2 separate regions of the Homo sapiens genome follow, and region 1 is linked to region 2. The links are contacts of gene promoters, found by promoter capture Hi-C in human tissues and cell types (Jung and others, 2019). All regions are on one chromosome and are shown on one strand. The core of a region is centred on a gene start or on the middle of the fragment in contact, and the rest is flanking DNA. Distances in the headings are between cores, read along the strand shown. Region 1 overlaps SLX4 (SLX4 structure-specific endonuclease subunit). Region 2 holds the start of MEFV (MEFV innate immunity regulator, pyrin).

Region 1 (4,457 bases), core at 1,670-4,169, 330 kb before region 2:
GAGGAGCTGGAGCTAGAACAAACCAAAATGAAGTCCATTTCTAGTGATCCTCTGGAAGAAAAGAAAGCTCTAGAAATTAGCCCTAGGTCCTGTGAGCTGTTTTCCATCATTGATGTTGATGCAGATCAGGAACCTTCCCAGAGCCCACCAAGAAGCGAAGCTGTGCTGCAGCAGGAGGATGAGGGGGCGCTGCCGGAGAATCGGGGCTCTTTGGGCAGGAGAGGGGCTCCCTGGCTGTTCTGTGACCGTGAGAGCAGCCCCAGCGAGGCCAGCACCACAGACACCTCGTGGCTGGTGCCCGCCACCCCGCTGGCCAGCAGAAGCCGTGACTGTTCTTCCCAGACCCAAATCAGCAGCCTCAGGAGCGGGCTGGCCGTGCAGGCGGTGACTCAGCACACGCCCAGGGCCTCAGTAGGAAACAGGGAAGGGAACGAAGTCGCACAGAAGTTTTCTGTCATCAGGCCCCAGACACCACCGCCCCAGACACCGTCCTCATGCCTCACTCCCGTCTCTCCAGGAACTTCTGACGGCAGAAGGCAAGGCCACAGAAGCCCTTCCCGTCCCCACCCCGGGGGCCACCCGCACTCCTCTCCGCTGGCTCCACATCCCATCTCAGGGGACCGCGCCCACTTCAGCAGGCGGTTCCTGAAACACTCGCCGCCTGGGCCAAGCTTCCTGAACCAGACCCCAGCGGGTGAAGTGGTGGAAGTCGGAGACAGTGACGATGAGCAGGAGGTGGCCTCCCATCAGGCCAACAGAAGCCCCCCACTGGACAGTGACCCCCCAATTCCAATTGACGACTGCTGCTGGCACATGGAGCCCCTCTCGCCAATTCCCATTGACCACTGGAACCTGGAGCGGACCGGCCCCCTGAGCACCAGCAGCCCCAGCCGCAGGATGAACGAGGCCGCCGACAGCCGTGACTGTCGCTCCCCGGGACTCCTGGACACCACCCCCATCCGAGGAAGCTGCACTACCCAGAGGAAATTGCAAGAGAAGTCCTCGGGCGCGGGCTCCCTGGGGAATAGCAGGCCGAGCTTTCTGAATTCGGCTCTGTGGGACGTTTGGGACGGGGAAGAGCAGAGGCCTCCAGAGACCCCTCCTCCGGCCCAGATGCCAAGCGCTGGTGGAGCTCAGAAGCCCGAAGGGTTAGAGACACCCAGTGAGTAGCCAGGAGAGCTGGGGAAGGGGACTGTCTTTGTTACTATTTTACACTAAGAGGGTGGGAAGATCAGTCATGAGACCCAGGGGCTGCCCTCTGAATGCCTGCTGACCTGAGGCATGACACTTCCGCTGCCTTCCAGACTCCCCTCCACAGTGGAGGAGAGCCGGGCTGGTTCTCATGCTACACTTCTCAGCCAGTAAGTCAGTGTTTCCCAAACTTGCCTGGCTCCAGTGCTCACCTGGGCATGTGTTAAAAATCCACATCTGTGGACCCTTCTCCAGAACACGGAGCCGGCACCTCCAAAGGCCACAACTCATTCAGCAAGTATCGGCATGCCTTAAGATTGGACCAGGGTGGTTCTCCAGAATGTTAACCGTAGATTGACTGCAGGACCCAGCAATTCCACTTTTACCTGTATATCCAAAAGAATTAAAAACAGGGACTCAGACATGCATGTTCATAGAAGCGCTGTTCACAATCGCCAAAAGCTGGAAGCAACCCAAATGCCCGTCAGGAGATGAACAGGGAAACCAAACGTGGTCCATCTAGACCACTAGAAAATGGAATAGTGTTCAGCCACAAAGAGGAGTGAGGCACTGCCACACGCTACCGCGTGGACGACCCAGAAAACATGCTGCCGGGTGAGAGAAGCCAGACATAGAAGGTCATGTACTGTCTGCACTCATGGATATGAAATGTCTAGAATAGGCAAATCCAGAGAAAATGCAGGTTAGTGGTTGGCCTGGGTTGGAGGGAGGGGGAATGGGGAGTGACTGCTTATGGGATACAGGGTGTCCTTTTGGGGTGGTGAAAATGTTTTGCAAATAGATAGAGGTGATGGTTGTACAACATTGTGAATACTTAATGCCACTGAATTATTCCCTTTACGATTTTTTTATGTGAATTTCACCTCAATTAAAAAAAGAATCAGGTGGGACAAGTGTGAGAGGCTGTTAGGCCTGTTCTTCCTGGTCCTCCCAGGTGCAGGGATGCCACCTCCCTGCTCATTTCAGTCCCCGGGGAGAGTCAGAGCCCCAGGTGTCGGCCCCCTCGGTGCTGCTGCTCCCATCCAGGCACCTCCGGGGAGGGCAAGGACAGGCCGGGCTGGGCTGAGCATGACTGGGAGAAAGGCCAGGCTGTGAGTGAGCACCTGCCTGCGGCCTGGGGGCCCATTTCCTCCCAAAATCCAGATGAATGAGGCCACTGATAGTGTCCTCGGCCCTCAGGGGCTTCAGAAACACCTGGAGAGCTTCTTATAGCACGCCCGTGGCCCAGCCTGCCCCAGAGCCTTGCTTCGGGAGGGTGACTAAGAATTTGCATTTCTAACCAGTTCCCAGGCAGTGCTGTGAGAACAGCTGCAGGAGGCTGCACAGCAGATCTGAGGTGGGCTTCAGGACGACGCTGCGGCCACAGGAAGAATCGTGCTTTTCTCAGGAGACAGAGCCTGCCGCTTTCATCGGGGGCTCAAAGGGCTCCATGGTCATAAAAGGCAGAAGAACCAAAGTCTGACTGTTTCCAATGTGTCACCAGGCTGGAGTGCAGTGGGGCTATCTCGGCTCACTGCAACCTCCACCTCTCGGGTTCAAGGGATTCTCCTGCCTCAGCCTCCCGAGTAGCTGGGATTACAGGCACCCAGCACCACGCCCAGCTAATTTTTGTATTTTTAGTAGAGTCGGGTTTCACCATGTTGATCAGGCTGGTCTTGAGCTGCTGACCTCAGGTGATCCGCCCACCTCGGCCTCCCAAAGTGCTGGGATTACAGGCGTGAGCCACCTCGCCCAGCCTATTATTTTTTAAAGTAACAGCTTTATTTAGATATAATTCACATACCATAATATCCACCCTTTTAAAATGGACAGTTCAGTGCTTCTCAGTACATTCACAGTGTTGTACAATTGTCCCCACTCTCTAATTCTAGAACATTTTCATCATCTCAAAAATCCTGTACCCATGAGCAGTCTCTCACCTTCCCCTTCCCCCAGCCCTGGCAACCAAGAACCTTTCTGTCTCTATGGATTTGCCTGTCCTGGACATTTCATATAAACAGAGCCATATATAACTAATATGTGGCCTTTTGTGTCTGTGTCTGGCTTCTTTCAGTTAGCATACAGTTTTCAAGATTCATACATGTTGTAGCATGGATCAGTATTTTATTCCTTTTTATTCTTTTTTTTTTTTTTTGAGACGGAGCCTCTCTCTGTTGCCCAGGCTAGAGTGCAGTGGCACGATCTCGGCTCACTGCAACCTCCACCTCCTGGGTCCAAGCGATTCTCCCGCCTCAGCCTCCCGAGTAGCTGGGATTACAAGCGCCCATCGCCATGCCATGCCCGGCTAATTTTTTTGTATTTTTAGTACAGATGGGGTTTCACCATGTTGGCCAAGCTGGTCTCGAACTCCTAACCTCAAGTGATCCACCCACTTTGGTCTCCCACAGTGCTGGGATTACAAGCCTGAGCCACTGTGCCTGGCCTGTTTTTGAGTCAGGGGTCTTGCTCTGTCACCCAGGCTGAAGTGCAGTGGCGCAATTACAGCTCATTGTAGCCTCGACCTCCCAGGCTCAAGTGATCCTCCCACCTCAACCTCCTGAGTAGCTGGGACTACAGGCAGCTGCCACCATGCCCAGCTAATTTTTTTTTTTTAGTAGAGACTGGGTCTTGCTATGTTGCCCTGGCTTTGGGCATACATTCCTTTGTATGTCTAATACCCCACTGATGGTATGCCACATTTTGCTTATCCATTCATCTACTAGTGGACACACGGGTTGTTTTTAATTTGTGGTTATTAATAATGCCACTTAGGAATATTGATGTGCAAGTTTTCGTGTAGACATGTTTTCCTTCTTCTTGGTTCTGTACTTAGGAGTGGAATTGCTGGGTCATATGGCAACTGTGTTTAGCATTGTGAGGAACTGCGAGACTGTTTTCCAAAGTGACTGCACCATTTTAAATCTCCACCAACACTTGTTATTCTGTTTTTGTTGTTGTTGTTATTGTTTTGAGACAAGGTCTTGCTCTGTCGCCCAGGCTGGAGTGCAGTGGCGTGTTCATGGCTTGCTGCAGCCTCAACCTTCCTGGCTCAGGTGATCCTCCCACCTCAGCCTCCCGAGTAGCTGGAACCAGCCACAAACAGCTGCCCACATTGGTGACTTGGGCCACCACACCCTGCTAACTTTTTTTGTATTTTTTTTTTTTTTTTTTTGTAGAGATAGGGTTCTGCCATTTTGCCCAAACCCTCTGTGTTTTTTGTTATGGCCATCCTAGTGGGCGTGCAGTGGTATCTCACTGTGGTTTTG
Region 2 (4,863 bases), core at 985-3,484:
CTGAGTAGCAGCAGGGACCACCAGTGTGTGCCACCACACCCAGCTAATATTTTTTCTATTTTTTGTAGAGGCAGGGTCTCCTTATGTTGCCCAGGCTAATCTCAAACTCTTGGGCTTAAGTAATCCTCCTGTCTCAGCCTCCCAAGGGCTGGGATTGCAGGTGTGAGCCACTACACCCAGCCCAATTCACCCTTTTTTTAGGGAAGATGTTGGGTTTGGGCTCAGAAAGATCTAGCAAACTGCATGTTTGTTGTCAGCTATGAAAACAATGCAAAAACACCAAATACTCTGTGAAATAGGAAACAGGTGGACCAGCTGGACAGTAAGTTAAATTCAACCAACCAGAACTCATCAAAGCCTTGAATCCCAGGCTGGGCACACACAGAGGAGCTCACACCCAGAGCTGGGTGTTCAGCTAGGCGTCGCAATGTTGTGACTGACCTGTGGAAGTGACCCATCCTGGACCTCAGTGGTCAGCTGGAAATGTGACATCCATGGGTAGTCATTAACAGTAAAATCACAAATTATTGTCATGCAGGAGACGATGTTGTGAAGTGGTTTGACGTTTGGATCTTGGCTCTAGGCAAGTCACTAAGCTACAGATTCTTGGCTGCACAGGGGGATGATAAACGCAGCCCTGCAGGGTGCTGCAGAGATTCTAGGAGGAAGTGTTTATAAAGCTAGTGGTGGCTGGTGCCGAGGAAGTGCTGGTGAAGGGTAAATTGCATTATTAACAAAACTTCTGGCCGGGCGCAGTGGCTCACACCTGTAATCCCAGCACTTTGGGAGGCCAAAGCGAGTGGATCGCTTGAGATCAGGAGTTCAAGACCAGCCTGCGCAACATAGTGAGACCCTGTCTCTATAAAAAATACAAAAATTGGCCAGATGTGGTGGAATGCACCTGTAGTCTCAGCTACTTGGGAGGCTGAGGTTGGAGGGTTGCTCAAGCCCAGGAGGCAGAAGTTGCAGTGAGCCAAGATCCCACTACTGCACTCCAGCCTGAGTGACTGAGCAAGACCCTATCTAAAAATAAAAAAATTAGGGTATGCAACGGTCAGAAGTAGGTAAGTGAGGAGTCAGTTCACCCTACATGTAATTTTTCATTTATTTATTTTTTTTGAGACAAAGTCCCGCTCTGTCGCCCAAGCTGGAGTACAATGGCGCAACCTCGGCTCACTGCAACATCTGCCTCCCATGTTCAAGTGATTCTCCTGCCTCAGCCTCCTGAGTAGCTGGGAGTACAGGTGCGTGCCACCATGCCTGGCTAATTTTTGTATTTTTAGTAGAGATGGGGTTTTACTGTGTTGGCCAGGCTGGTCTTGTACTCCCAACCTGAGGTGATCCACCCACCTCGGCCTCCCAAAGTGCTGGGATTACAGGCGTTAGCCACTGTGCCCTGCCCCCAACATGTAACTTCTGTTAGCTTCAAAGCCACCTCTGGGGCCCTGCACCACATATGAGCTGAAGGACACCCGTGCCTTTTCACCCGTGTAGCTCCAGCATCTTGGCACACTGTCTAGAATGTTCAATGAATGTGCACGGAAGAGCATTCTGGCTCCAGGGAGCGAGGACTGAGTCAGCTCTGGGAACAGATGAGTCAGGCTGGTGGTCCAGGCATTGCTTTTCAAGTCCTTCATGTGGCTGGAAGAACCAGTCAACTGGAACCGGATCAACAGGGGTGATGGCATGGCAAGAGTTATCTCCTGGCAGTGCCCTTCTGGCCTCACTTGCCTTCTTGGGCCAGGAAAGGCAAAGCTCACAGGACTGTATTCAGTGCCCACCCCTTCCCCCGTCCTGTGCCATTGGCTCTGGAAGGTCCCTGAAACCCCGAGTCTGGAGGAGAACAGTTGACCAGCAGGGCGGGCCCTCAGCATAGTCCTCTCTGTTCCCACTCACCCGCTCTGCCAGCCCCAGATCCTGGCAGGAAGGAAGATTGGAGGGGGTGTCTGGAATCCAATCCCAGACCTTCCCTTGCAGACTTGCCCATCTGTCTGTGGTCTAGTGTGGAGGCGAGGTCCAGGGTTTGGGAGGGGTGTGGGGGCACATGTCTGCCAAGGCATGGAGCCCTCCCAGCTGGAAAATCCTCTGAACCTGTAAGAAGAGAACACAGCCGGCATGGACACACCCTTACCCTTAGTCTCAGTTCCCACCAAGACACAGAGCATTTCCTGTGCCTTTTCCGCTATTTCACAACCTGCCTTTTCTTGCTCACCAAGGACAGAGGCTTCTTTTCCTACCAGAAGCCAGACAGCTGGCTCGAGCCTCTCCTGCTCAGCACCATGGCTAAGACCCCTAGTGACCATCTGCTGTCCACCCTGGAGGAGCTGGTGCCCTATGACTTCGAGAAGTTCAAGTTCAAGCTGCAGAACACCAGTGTGCAGAAGGAGCACTCCAGGATCCCCCGGAGCCAGATCCAGAGAGCCAGGCCGGTGAAGATGGCCACTCTGCTGGTCACCTACTATGGGGAAGAGTACGCCGTGCAGCTCACCCTGCAGGTCCTGCGGGCCATCAACCAGCGCCTGCTGGCCGAGGAGCTCCACAGGGCAGCCATTCAGGGTAAGCGGGCCCAGGCCTCCTCCTCATCCAGTGCTGAGTGCTGGCTGCTTTGTGGGAAAGGGGACCAGGAGCTCAGAGCAGCTCACTCTGACCTGGGGATTGGGAGTCTCAGGTCTACCAAAATCCAGATGACTTTAGTTCAGGAACGTCCCTTTCTTCACTCTGGCCTTTGGAACTGGGTTAGTAAACTTCCTTCAGGCTCCTAATGGGTTTTTTAAGAAGCAGGTCAGGGTCACGAAAGGCAGGAGCTGGAACACCTGTTCTTTGAGACTTCTTCACTACATTTATGATTAATACTCATGTCAGACAAACATCTCTAGGTTAGCAAAAAGGGATTGCTATGCAATCATATGAACGGGGTTGGTATAGAATCTTCTCAGTGCTGTTCACCATGTTGGCCAGGCTGGTCTCGAACTCCTGACCTCAAGTGATCCTCCCGCCTCAGCCTCCCAAAGTGCTGGGATTTCAGACATAGGCCACCGTGCCCGGCTTATTTTTATTTTTAAAGCGTATAATCTGGGTTTTGCTGACCTGTGTAAGATCTTATTTGAAACAGTTGTCCTGCTTAAAACGTTTGAAAAGTACTATTTGAGAAATATAGGCTAGGCATGGTGGCTCACACTTATAAATAATCTCAGCACTTTGGGAGGCTAAGGTGGGTGGATTGCTAGAGCTCAGGAGTTTGAGACCAGCTTGGGCAACATGGTGAAACCCTGTCTCTACCAAAAATACAAAAAAATGAGCCAGGCGTGGTAGCACACACCTGTATTTTCAGCTATTGAAAAAACAGAAAACAGGCTGAGGTGAGAGGATTGCTTGAGCCTGGGAGGCAGAGGTTGCAGTGAGCTGAGATCACATCAGGGCAACAGAGCAAGATCCTGTCTCAAAAAATAAAATAAGAGAGAGAGAAATACATAGCAACATCAAGCATGTTCTTACTGAATGGTAATTGACTGCCATTGTCTAGTCTAGGAAGTCCTGAACTTTTGTTTTTGAGATGGAGTCTTGCTCTGTCACTCAGGCTGGAGTGCAGTGGCCCGATCTCAGCTCACTGCAACCTCCACATCCCGGGCTCAAGCGATTCTCATGCCTCAGCCTCCCGAGTAGCTGGGACTACAGGTGCGCACCACCGCGTCTGGCTGAGTTTCTTATTTTTAGTAGGAACGGGGTTTTGCCATGTTGGCCAGGCTGGTCTCGAACTCCTGACCTCAAATGATCCTCCCACCTTGGCCTCTGGAGAAGCTGGGATTACAGGCATGCGCCACCACGCTCAGCTTATTTTTGTATTTTTAGTAGAGACGGGGTTTCACCCTGTTGGTCTTGAACTCCTGATCTCAGGTGATCCTCCCGCCTCGGCCTCCCAGAGTGCCGGGAATACAGGCATGAGCCACCGCGCCCGGCCCGTTGTTTTCCTCAATTTCTAAACTTTAATATCCAAGGGGATTCTCTCTCCTCTGCCCTGAATCTTGGGCCCTAAACGTGGGACAGCTTCATCATTTTGCATCTGGTTGTCCTTCCAGAATATTCCACACAAGAAAACGGCACAGATGATTCCGCAGCGTCCAGCTCCCTGGGGGAGAACAAGCCCAGGAGCCTGAAGACTCCAGACCACCCCGAGGGGAACGAGGGGAACGGCCCTCGGCCGTACGGGGGCGGAGCTGCCAGCCTGCGGTGCAGCCAGCCCGAGGCCGGGAGGGGGCTGTCGAGGAAGCCCCTGAGCAAACGCAGAGAGAAGGCCTCGGAGGGCCTGGACGCGCAGGGCAAGCCTCGGACCCGGAGCCCGGCCCTGCCGGGCGGGAGAAGCCCCGGCCCCTGCAGGGCGCTAGAGGGGGGCCAGGCCGAGGTCCGGCTGCGCAGAAACGCCAGCTCCGCGGGGAGGCTGCAGGGGCTGGCGGGGGGCGCCCCGGGGCAGAAGGAGTGCAGGCCCTTCGAAGTGTACCTGCCCTCGGGAAAGATGCGACCTAGAAGCCTTGAGGTCACCATTTCTACAGGGGAGAAGGCGCCCGCAAATCCAGAAATTCTCCTGACTCTAGAGGAAAAGACAGCTGCGAATCTGGACTCGGCAACAGAACCCCGGGCAAGGCCCACTCCGGATGGAGGGGCATCTGCGGACCTGAAGGAAGGCCCTGGAAATCCAGAACATTCGGTCACCGGTAAATTGTGTTCTTTCCTACTTTATATCGGCTGCAGAGAAAGAATGGCTGGCCGGGCACGATAGCTCATGCCTGTAATCCCAGCGCTTTGGGAGGCCAGGGCGGGAGGATTGCTGGAGGCCAAGACTTTGAGACCAGCCTGGTGAATGTAGTG

Evidence for each region. The method cuts DNA at HindIII sites, captures the fragments that hold promoters and counts their contacts. A contact is called where the count stands out against the background at its distance.
Region 1: a fragment that was not itself captured here is called in contact with the fragment with the promoter of MEFV in region 2 in 1 of the 25 tissues and cell types used here (stomach).

What each region holds. Positions count from the first base shown.
Region 1 is chr16:3,585,707-3,590,163 of GRCh38, reverse strand. SLX4 (SLX4 structure-specific endonuclease subunit) reads left to right here. Exons shown (of 15, transcript NM_032444.4): 12 at 1-1,162. Among named protein-coding and RNA genes, the nearest start is that of NLRC3, 11 kb to the right of the region's middle. RefSeq lists enhancers at 1-667, 2,687-2,756. The HindIII fragment of the contact is 6,051 bases long and covers 1-4,457 here.
Region 2 is chr16:3,254,004-3,258,866 of GRCh38, reverse strand. It overlaps MEFV (MEFV innate immunity regulator, pyrin), which reads left to right and starts at 2,234. Exons shown (of 10, transcript NM_000243.3): 1 at 2,234-2,556; 2 at 4,077-4,709. The coding sequence starts at 2,280. The HindIII fragment of the contact is 7,133 bases long and covers 1-3,448 here.